Linked DNA regions of Homo sapiens: region 1 is linked to region 2. The links are contacts of gene promoters, found by promoter capture Hi-C in human tissues and cell types (Jung and others, 2019). All regions are on one chromosome and are shown on one strand. The core of a region is centred on a gene start or on the middle of the fragment in contact, and the rest is flanking DNA. Distances in the headings are between cores, read along the strand shown. Region 1 overlaps KDM2B (lysine demethylase 2B). Region 2 holds the start of PSMD9 (proteasome 26S subunit, non-ATPase 9).

Evidence for each region. The method cuts DNA at HindIII sites, captures the fragments that hold promoters and counts their contacts. A contact is called where the count stands out against the background at its distance.
Region 1: a fragment that was not itself captured here is called in contact with the fragment with the promoter of PSMD9 in region 2 in 1 of the 25 tissues and cell types used here (liver).

The regions. Positions count from the first base shown.
Region 1 is chr12:121,552,522-121,557,420 of GRCh38, forward strand. The region is part of intron 4 of KDM2B (lysine demethylase 2B); the gene reads right to left. Among named protein-coding and RNA genes, the nearest start is that of KDM2B-DT, 26 kb to the right of the region's middle. The HindIII fragment of the contact is 4,739 bases long and covers 1,181-4,899 here.
Region 2 is chr12:121,886,449-121,891,102 of GRCh38, forward strand. PSMD9 (proteasome 26S subunit, non-ATPase 9) reads left to right here and starts at 2,342. Exons shown (of 6, transcript NM_002813.7): 1 at 2,342-2,546. The coding sequence starts at 2,409. It also overlaps a transcript of HPD not described here. RefSeq lists enhancers at 1,999-2,612, 2,246-2,645, 2,613-3,226. The HindIII fragment of the contact is 23,703 bases long and covers 1-4,654 here.

The sequences.
Region 1 (4,899 bases), core at 2,300-4,799, 330 kb before region 2:
AATTAGCCAAGTATGGTGGCACACGTCTGTAATCCCAGCTACTTGGGAGGCTGAGGTAGGAGAATTGCTTGAACCCAGGAGGTGGAGGTTGCAGTGAGCTGAGGTCGTGCCATTGCACTCTAGCCTGGGTGACATGGTGAGACTCTGTCTTAATTAAAAAAAAAAAAAAAAAAGATTCCAGACCACAGCAGTGGCCAGGTCCCTCCCCATGGACCCTAGGAAGCAGTGGATCCAGGGGAAAGCAGCTTTTGTTTTGGCGTCTGGAGTGCAGATCCACCAGGGGGCATCCCCGTTCTTCGCTGGATATTCTGGCCTTGATCTTGGCAAGGCTAGCTCCTTCCTTACCCAGGTGCCTGGAATACGTGGGCGCCACTCAGATTTTCCAGGAGGCCCACCTGGCAGAAACCCTGCTGTCAGAACCCCAGTACCAGCCGGGCACGGTGGCTCACGCCTGTAATCCCAGCACTTTGGGAGGCTGAGGCGGGCAGATCATGAGGTCAGGAGATTGAGACCATCTTGGCTAACACGGTGAAACCCCGAGAATACTAAAAATACAAAAAATCCGCCGGGTGTGGTGGCGGGCGCCTGTAGTCCCAGCTACTTGGGAGGCTGAGTCAGGAGAATGGCGTGAACCCGGGAGGCGGGGTTGCAGCGAGCCGAGATCGCGCCACTGCACTACAGCCTGGGCGACAGAGCAAGACTCTGTCTCAAAAAAAAAAAAGAAAGAAAGAACCCCGGTACCCTCCCCACTCTCGCTCTCTGGCCAGCCTCCCACCTCCACCCACTTCTCCTCCCTAATCTTGCTCAAGGTCATGTCTGCAAAGCTCCCTGTGCAAAGGAGTCTGCTGGGCAGGTAGCAAATAGGATAAAGAGCACTAAAATCACGAACCCAGAGTCCTGCAAGTCAGCACTGAAGGCCAAGCTCAGCTACCCCTACCCACACACTGTTAAAATTTAGAGGGTTCGGTTCCCAGCGGAGCCTCCAGCCTGTGCCTCGGGCTCTTGGCTTCTCTGGGAATCAGTTTCTTCTTCATCTATAACATGGGGAACAAATAGCCAGCCCAGGAGCTGTCCTGAGACATAACTGAGTTCATGCACTTCACACTCACTTGGAGCACCTACAGGTAGGTAGCGTTACCGAGTCGGTCAGTTTCATCTGTAACTAGAGGTGGAGAAGGTGAGGAGCTGGGAAGTTTAGGGACTTGCCCAGCATCACAGCCAGTTAAATCGTTGCTGGCCAGTCCCAGTGAACAGACTGCTTAGGACCCTACAACATATTCAAGATGCAAATGGGTGTGGGGTTCTTCTGGGGAATGATGAAAAAGTTCTAAAATGGACTTTCATAATGGTTGCACAGCTCTGTGAATATACTGAAAACAAGTGAATTGTGGCCGGCCTTGGTGGCTGGTGGCTCACACCTGTAATCCCAACAGTTTGGGAGACAGAGCTGGAAGGAGCGCTGGGCCCTAGAAGTTTGAGATCAGCCTGGGTAATATAGTGACACCCCAGCTCCACACACACACACACACACACACACACACACACACACACACACACACACACAAATTGGCCAAGCATGGTGACCCACACCGGTGGTCCCAGCTACTCTGAAGGCTGAAGTGGGAGGACTGCTTGAGCGTCAGGAGGTTGAGGCTCCAGTGAGCCATGATCGTGCCACTGCACTCCAGCTTGGGCAACAGAGCCAGATCCTGTCTCAAAAAAAAAAAAAGTGGGGTGAAATGAATTGTATGGTCTGTGACTTATATTTCAATGAAACTTTTTACTTTTTTAAAATGGAGAGTCTCAGAGATGGCAAGTAATCTGGGAGTGTTTCCAAATAAATGTATACCTTGTATATATCATGATACTTGCCCTTTGTAACATACTTTTTTTTTTTTTTGAGACAAAGTCTCTCTTTTGTCCCCCAGGCTGGAGTGCGATGGCGATGGCGCGATCTCGGCTCACTGCAACCTCTGCCTCCCAGGTTCAAGCGATTCTCCTGCCTCAGCCCCCCGAGTAGCTGGGATTACAGGCGCCTGCCACCACGCCCAGCTAATTTTTGTATTTTCAGTAGAGACGGGGTTTTACCATGTTGTCCAGGCTGGTCTAGAACTCCTGACCTCAGGTGATCCACCTGCCTCAGCCTCCCAAAGTGCTGGGATTACAGGCGTGAGCCACCGCACCCGGCCTGTAACATACTTTAAATTAACACTTTTATACTCTCATTTAATCCCAGGTATATATACCTCTCTCACATGCACACAGGTATTAATCCACAAGTTATGATTTTCAGTCTTAGTCCAAATGTGGACCAGAAAAAACAAAAGAACATCTGCATCTGGGATTCATGCAGCACTCAAATATTTGATGAATGCAAGAGTAGGCTGAGTGTGGTGACTCACACCTGTAACCCCAACACTTTGGGAAGCTGAAGCAGGAGGATCACTTAAGCCCAGGAGTTCAAGACCAGCCTGGATAACATGTCAAGACCCCATCTCTACAAAAAATTTAAAAATTATCTGTGCATGTTGGCAGACACCAGTATTCCCAGCTACTTGGGAGGATCACTTGAGCCTGGAAGGCAGAGGCTACAGTGAGCAATGGCTGTGCCACTGCACTCCAGCCTAGGTGACAGAGTGAGACTCTATCTTAAAAAATAAAAAATTTTAAAAAACAGTAGATAGCAATCCTATTTTATAAAAAATGGATACCAATTTAAAATAATGTTTAATCATATCATTTAGTTATGAGGATATAGTAATTTACAAAATTATACCTTAAGACCCTGAAAATGTTATTTATTTTGCAAGTGTCAAAGTATCAAAAAAGAAAGAATAACTAGTCTGGGGTAATTTTATTTTTTTCTTTTGAGACAGAGTCTCGCTCTGTCTCCCAGGCTAGAGTGCAGTGGCACGATCTCAGCACACTGCAACCTCCACCTCCCTGGTTCAAGTAATTCTTGTGCCTAAACCACCAAAGTAGCTGGGATTACAGGCGTGGGCCACCATACCCGGCTAATATTTGTATTTTTTGTAGGGACGGGGTTTCGCCATATTGCCCAGGCTGGTGTCAAACTCCTGGGCTCAAGTCATCTGCCCACCTAGGCCTCCCAAAATGTCTGAGATTATAGGCGTGAGCCACCACACCTGGCCAAAATTTTTTATAAGAATATAAATAAGTAAGTGATATAGTTTGGATATTTTTCCCCCCCAAATCTCAAATCTCATGTTGAAACATGAATATCTCTCAAATATCTCCAATGTTAGAGGTAGGAATTGGTGTGTGGTGTTTGGGACGTGAGGGTGGATCCTTCACGAATGCCTTGGTACCCTCCTTGCATAAAGAGTGAATTCCCACTCTATTAGTTCCCATGAGACTGAATTGGGTTTTTGTTTTGTTTTTTTTGTTTTTTGTTTTTTTTTTGAGACGGAGTCTCACTCTCTCACCTACACTGGAGTACAGTGGCACGATCTCGGCTCACTGCAACCTCTGCCTCCCAAGTTCAAGAGATCCTCCTGCCTCAGCCTCCCGAGTAGCTGGGACTACAAGAACGCACCACCACGCCTGGCTAATTTTTTGTATTTTAGTAGAGATGGGGTTTCACCATGTTGGCCAGGCTGGTCTTGAACTCCTGACATTGTGATCTGCCCTCCTCAGCCTCCCAAAATGCTGGGATTACAGGGGTGAGCCACTGCACTCGGCCTGTTTTTTGTTTTTTGAGACAAAGCCTCACTCTGCTCATTAGGCTGGAGTGCAGTGGCTTGAACATGGCTCACTGTAGCCTCAAACTCCTGGGCTCAAGCGATCCTCCTACCTCAGCCTCCCAAATAGCTGGGGCTACAGGCTGGATTATTTAGAAGCATTTGGCACCTCCCTCCTCTCTCTCTTGCTCCCTCTGTGGCTATGTGACACACCAGCTCACCCTCCCCTTCCATCATGACTGGAAGCTTCCTGAAGTCCTCACCAGAAGCAGATGCTGGCTCCATGCTTCCTGTACAGCCTGCAGAGCTGAATCAAATAAACCTTTCTTTATAAATAATCCAACCCAGCTGGGCACCATGGCTCAAGCCTGTAATCCCAGCACTTTGGGAGGCCGAGGCAAGTGGATCACTTGAGGTCAAGAGTTTGAGACTAACCTGGACAACATGGTGAAACCCTGTCTCTACTAAAAATACAAAAATTGAGCCAGGCCTGGTTATGCGCACCTGTAACCCCAGCTACTCAGGAGGCTGAGGCAGGAGAATCACTTGAATCCAGGAAGCGGAGGTTGCAGTGAGCTGAGATGGTGCCACTGCACTCCAACCTGGGCGACAGAGTGAGACTCTGTCCTTAAAAAAAAAAAAAAAATCCAACCTCAGGCATTCCTTTATAGCAACACAAAGTGAACTAAGCCAGTAAATCAATAAAAATGTAATTTTAAAAAGAAAAAAAGGTTGTAGGATTAGCTAAGATTATGACCCAGATCGAACAGTAGACGCAGGGAAGGCACTAACCAGAAATCAGCACCCTCCCCTCCTCAGCCTACCCAGTTCCCTGTAATTTGCTAACGGTTTTGGCTACCCACGTACCTCAAGGGGTACTGTGAGTTGAACTGCACTCCCCCAAAATATATGTTCAGTCCCTAATATCTGTGATACAGGGTCTTTGCTGACGTGATCAAGCTAGAATGAGATCATATGGGATTAGGGTAGGCCTAATAAGACAAGAGAATTTTTTTTTTTTTTTTTTTTTTTTGAGACAGAGTCTCACTCTGTTCCCCAGGATGGAGTTCAGTGGTACAATCTCAGCTCATTGCAACCTCTGCCTCCTGGGTTCAAGCGATTCTCCTGCCTCAACCTCCCGATTAGCTGGGATTACAGGCGCCTACCACCACTTCCGGCTAATTTTTTTGTATTTTTA
Region 2 (4,654 bases), core at 1,092-3,591:
CTGCCGCTCAGGCAGTGAGCCACCTGCCCTGGCCTCCCAAAATGCTAGGATTATAGCCATAAGCAGCTTACAAAACAGTTTTCTTGAACATGCTTATACTCTTCACGTGGATTTGCTAATTGTTACATTTTGCCTCTTTCTCCCCTTGTATCACTTTCTTCGGACCACTTGCAAGTTAGTAGCAGAAATCATGACACTACACATCTAAATAATTGAGCATTTATCTCGTTCCAATAAAGATAAAAGTGATTCTCTCATATAATTGCAACACCATTATCTGACTGAGGAAATTTAACACTGATATACTATAATTTAATATAAAGTTCATATTTAGATTTCACCAGTTGGCCCAATAAGTCTTGTAAAGCTGCTGTTTCTCATTAAATAATTCAAGTAAGGATCATGTATTGCATTTAGTCATTATTTCTCTCTTCCTCCCTTTTTAACTTTATTATTTATTTATTTATTTGAGACAGAGTCTCACTCGGTCACTCAGGCTGGAGTGCAGTGACATGATCTCAGCTCATTGCAACCTCTGCCTCCCCGGTTCAAGCGATTCTCCTGCGTCAGCCTCCCAGGTAGCTGGGATTACAAGTGTGTGGCACTGTGCCTTGGTAACTTTTGTATTTTTAGTAGAGACGGTGTTTCACCATGTTGGCCAGGCTGGTCTTGAACTCCTGACCTCAAGTGATCCACCCACCTCAGCCTCCCAAAGTGCTGGGATTACAGGTGTGAATCACCACACCTGGTCCTCTGCTAATTAATTATTATTTTTTTTTTTTTGTAGAGATGGAGGTCTTGCTATGTTGCCCAGGCTAGTCTCAAACTCCTGGACCTAAGGGATCCTCCTGCCTTGATCTCCCAGCATAATGGGACTACAGGTATGAGCCACTGCACCTGTATTTCTCTCTCTCTCTCTCTCGATAATGTTAGAAATGTTAGTTTATTTTTGAGGGGTGCGGTAGCTCACTCCTGTAATCCCAGCACTTTGAAAGGCCGAGCTGGGCTGGATCACTTGAGGCCAGGGGTTCGAGACCTCAGCCTCCTGAGTACCTGGGATTACAGGTGTGTGCCACCACACCCGGCTAATATTTTATATTTTTGGTAGAGACAGGGTTTCACCATGTTGGCGAGGCTAGTCTCAAACTCCTGACCTCAAATGATCTGCTTGCCACAGCCTCCCAAAGTGCTGGGATTATAGGCATGAGCCACCACACCTGGCCCATTGCATTTAGTTGATGCACATCTTTAGTGTTCTTAAATCTAGGCAATTGCATATCCGCCTCCTTTCTCTGTCCCCCACCCCTTATTCCCCATGTGTATTTCACAACATTGACTTTTTTTGAAGTTTTCAGGCCAGTTGTTTTGAAGTATGTCCCTTCTTTTGGATATGTCTGTTTTCCAATGATTAGATTCAGGGCAAACATGTTTGAATACTACACAGATGACCGCTGAGCCCTTTTCAAGACAAAATATTAGAGGCACATGGTCAGATATCAAAGTTGATTGTTTAGGTAAGCTGGGTTGGAATTTTGGCCTCACATTTTGCTAGTTGGGTAAATTGGTTATTGAGACGGTTTTCTCAGCTGTCAAATTGGGATGTAATAATCTAGCTTCATGAGGTTGTTGAATTAATATATGTAAGGCATTTAGAACAGCGTCTGGCACATTATAAGTATCAATAAATAAACACTGTTACCGTTATTATTATCACTACGATTTTTAGAGGCCTTAACAGGAACATCCAGCACCTTCAACAGTATATGGCTCATAGGAATCATTCCATGAATATTTGTTAGCAGAAGGACAGCTCTATGAGATAGATTGCTATCAATTACTGCCCCATTTTACAGATGAGGAAACTGAGGCCCAGAGAAGCCAAGTAGTGACCTAGGGTCACACAGATTGCCGTTAAGTGGCAAGATACGGGGTGTGTACTCAGGCATATCGGATCTGTAAAGTGAGGGATAAGGAACCTTAATGTATTTTGTAAATCCTCCAGGGCTGTGTGGATGTGAAGAACTGAATTGGAGCGCCACGCAGCGGTTCTCTGGCGTACAGTATCCATCCATACAGTAGGCGCTCAATAAATGTCTGCTGCACGAATGAGAAAATGAGTCAGCTGGGGCGAGATCATCCCCTAGCGTTGGTGTGCAATTGCGTGGGGATCCATTGCTTCCGACGCTACTCCTGCCGGGTCACCACAGGCGCACGTGTTCCGGCAGGGCGCGGCTTCCGGTGACCCAGCTCCGCCCTAAGCCCCATCCCAAGCCCCGCCCCTTGACTGTTCTCGCGTTCGCGGACGGCTGTGGTGTTTTGGCGCATGGGCGGAGCCGTAGTTACGGTCGACTGGGGCGTCGTCCCTAGCCCGGGAGCCGGGTCTCTGGAGTCGCGGCCCGGGGTTCACGATGTCCGACGAGGAAGCGAGGCAGAGCGGAGGCTCCTCGCAGGCCGGCGTCGTGACTGTCAGCGACGTCCAGGAGCTGATGCGGCGCAAGGAGGAGATAGAAGCGCAGATCAAGGCCAACTATGACGTGCTGGAAAGCGTGAGTGTGGGTTCGGGGCGCCCCAAGTCGCCTAACCCGGCCCGGAGTCCCTGGGGTACTGGGATGCCAGGGCGGCCTCAGTTTGGGCGCTCCGCAACGGATCTCCCTGGGAGGCCCAAGGCGCCGCAAGTGCGGCCTCTGTCGGCACAAGAAGGCAGGCAAAGAACTTTAGCAACTGAAGAGTTAGCCATATTGATATCCAGCAAGAGTTTGTGGAGCCCTGCTGTGTGCTAGGCGCTGGTTTAAGTGCTGTGCATTGTTGAGTTAATTTAATCTTTGCAACAACCCTTTGAGGTGGATGCTGTTACTCTTTCCATTTTAGGGAGGGGGAAACAGGTGTTACTTGGTGATTAAACAGCTGTCATGTGCCTCGCTGACTGCCTTATCTTAATTTTGTACTTTTTGTAAAGACAGAGTCTCACTGTGTTGCCCAGGTTGGTATCGAACTCATGGCCTCAAGCGATCCTTCCACCTCGGCCTTTCAAAGTGCTGGGATTACAGGCGTGAGCTACTGCACCCGGCATTTGCTGATTGTATCGTGAATTCTTAAACTTCAGTGTGTATATGAATTACCTGGGGATCTTATTAAAATGCAGATTTTGTTTGAGGCAAGGGAGCAGATTCTGCATTTGTAGCAAACTCCCAGCAATGCTGATGCTAGTGGTCTAAGGACCGAACTTTGAGTTACAAATAAGGCTCATCATCCTTATTGCATAAGGAGGAAACTGAGGCCCAGAGTGGGGCAAACGCCTATCTAAGGTCATGTAGTTCGGAAGTGGCAGTGGTGGGTCTGGCTCAAAAGCTGATGCAGGTTTTCTTATGCCATCTAGTGTAAAATCACAGATCAGTTTGCAGAGGAAGATGCAATTAATTATGCCCAAGTAGGGTGGGATGGAATGCATTTTAGGTGATGTAAGATGAAGTTTCTTTTTTTTTTGTCTGAGACGGAGTCTTGCTTTGTCACCCAGGCTGGAGTGCAGTGGCTCAATCTCGGCTCACTGCAGCCTCTGCCTCCTGGGTTCAAGTGATTCTCCTGCCTCAGCCTCCCGAGTAGTAGGGATTACAGGCGAGCGCCAGTACGCCAGGCTAATTTTTTATTTTAAGTAAAAGCAGGGTTTCACCATGTTGGTCAGGCCGGTGTTGGATTCCTGACCTCAGGTGATCCGCCCACCTTGGCCTCCCCAAGTGCTGGGATTACAGGCGTGAGCCACCGCGTCCGGCCATAAGATGAAGTTTCATACGGAGGGCCAGAGAACCATTTTACTGGGTGCTGACTATATGCTCAAAGTGGGATTCAGACTTCAGGTCTGTTACATTCAGAACCTGTGCTTTCAAGCAAATTACCAGCAATTTCTCAAACTTTAGTTTACTTTCTACCACATGCAGTATACTATATGCATATACCACTTGTGTTATTCCTTTGATATTTTTATTTAAATAGATCTACTTTTAATCTTATATAAATGTATTATTATTGTTATTATTATTATTGAGACAGGGTCTCGCTCTGTTGCCCAGGCTGGAGTTCAGTGGCACCATCTTGGTTCACTGCAGCCTCAATCTCCTGGTGTCAAGCAATCCTCCCACCTCAGCCTCCCAAGTAGCTGAGACTGCAGGTACGTGCCACCACGCCCAGCTAATTTTTGTATTTTTTGTAGCTATGGGGTCTCACTATGTTGCTTGCTCAGACTGGTCTGAAACTCCTGGGCTCAAGCAGTCCTCCTGCCTCTGCCTCCCAAAGTGTTGGGGTTACAGGCATGAGCCACAGTGCCTTGCCCATAAATGTATTTTAAAAGGAAATTTCAAAACTCCGCTGCATATGGAAAATGATAATCTCTTCTCTTAAATATAAGGTCAGATGCTTTGCATGTTGATACGGCATGTTGGTTGCTTCTGGCTAGCTGCTGTTGCTTGCTGAAAGCTTTCAGCCTGAAACCGTGCTCTATATTTGTTTTTAAAAAGTGGGTTTGGGCCGGGCCTGGTGGCTCACGCCTGTAATCCCAGCACTTTGGGAGGCCAAGGTGGGTGGATCACCTGAGGCCAGGATGGTCTCGATCTCCTGACCTCGTGATCCGCCCGCCTCGGCCTCCCAAAGTGCTGGGATTACA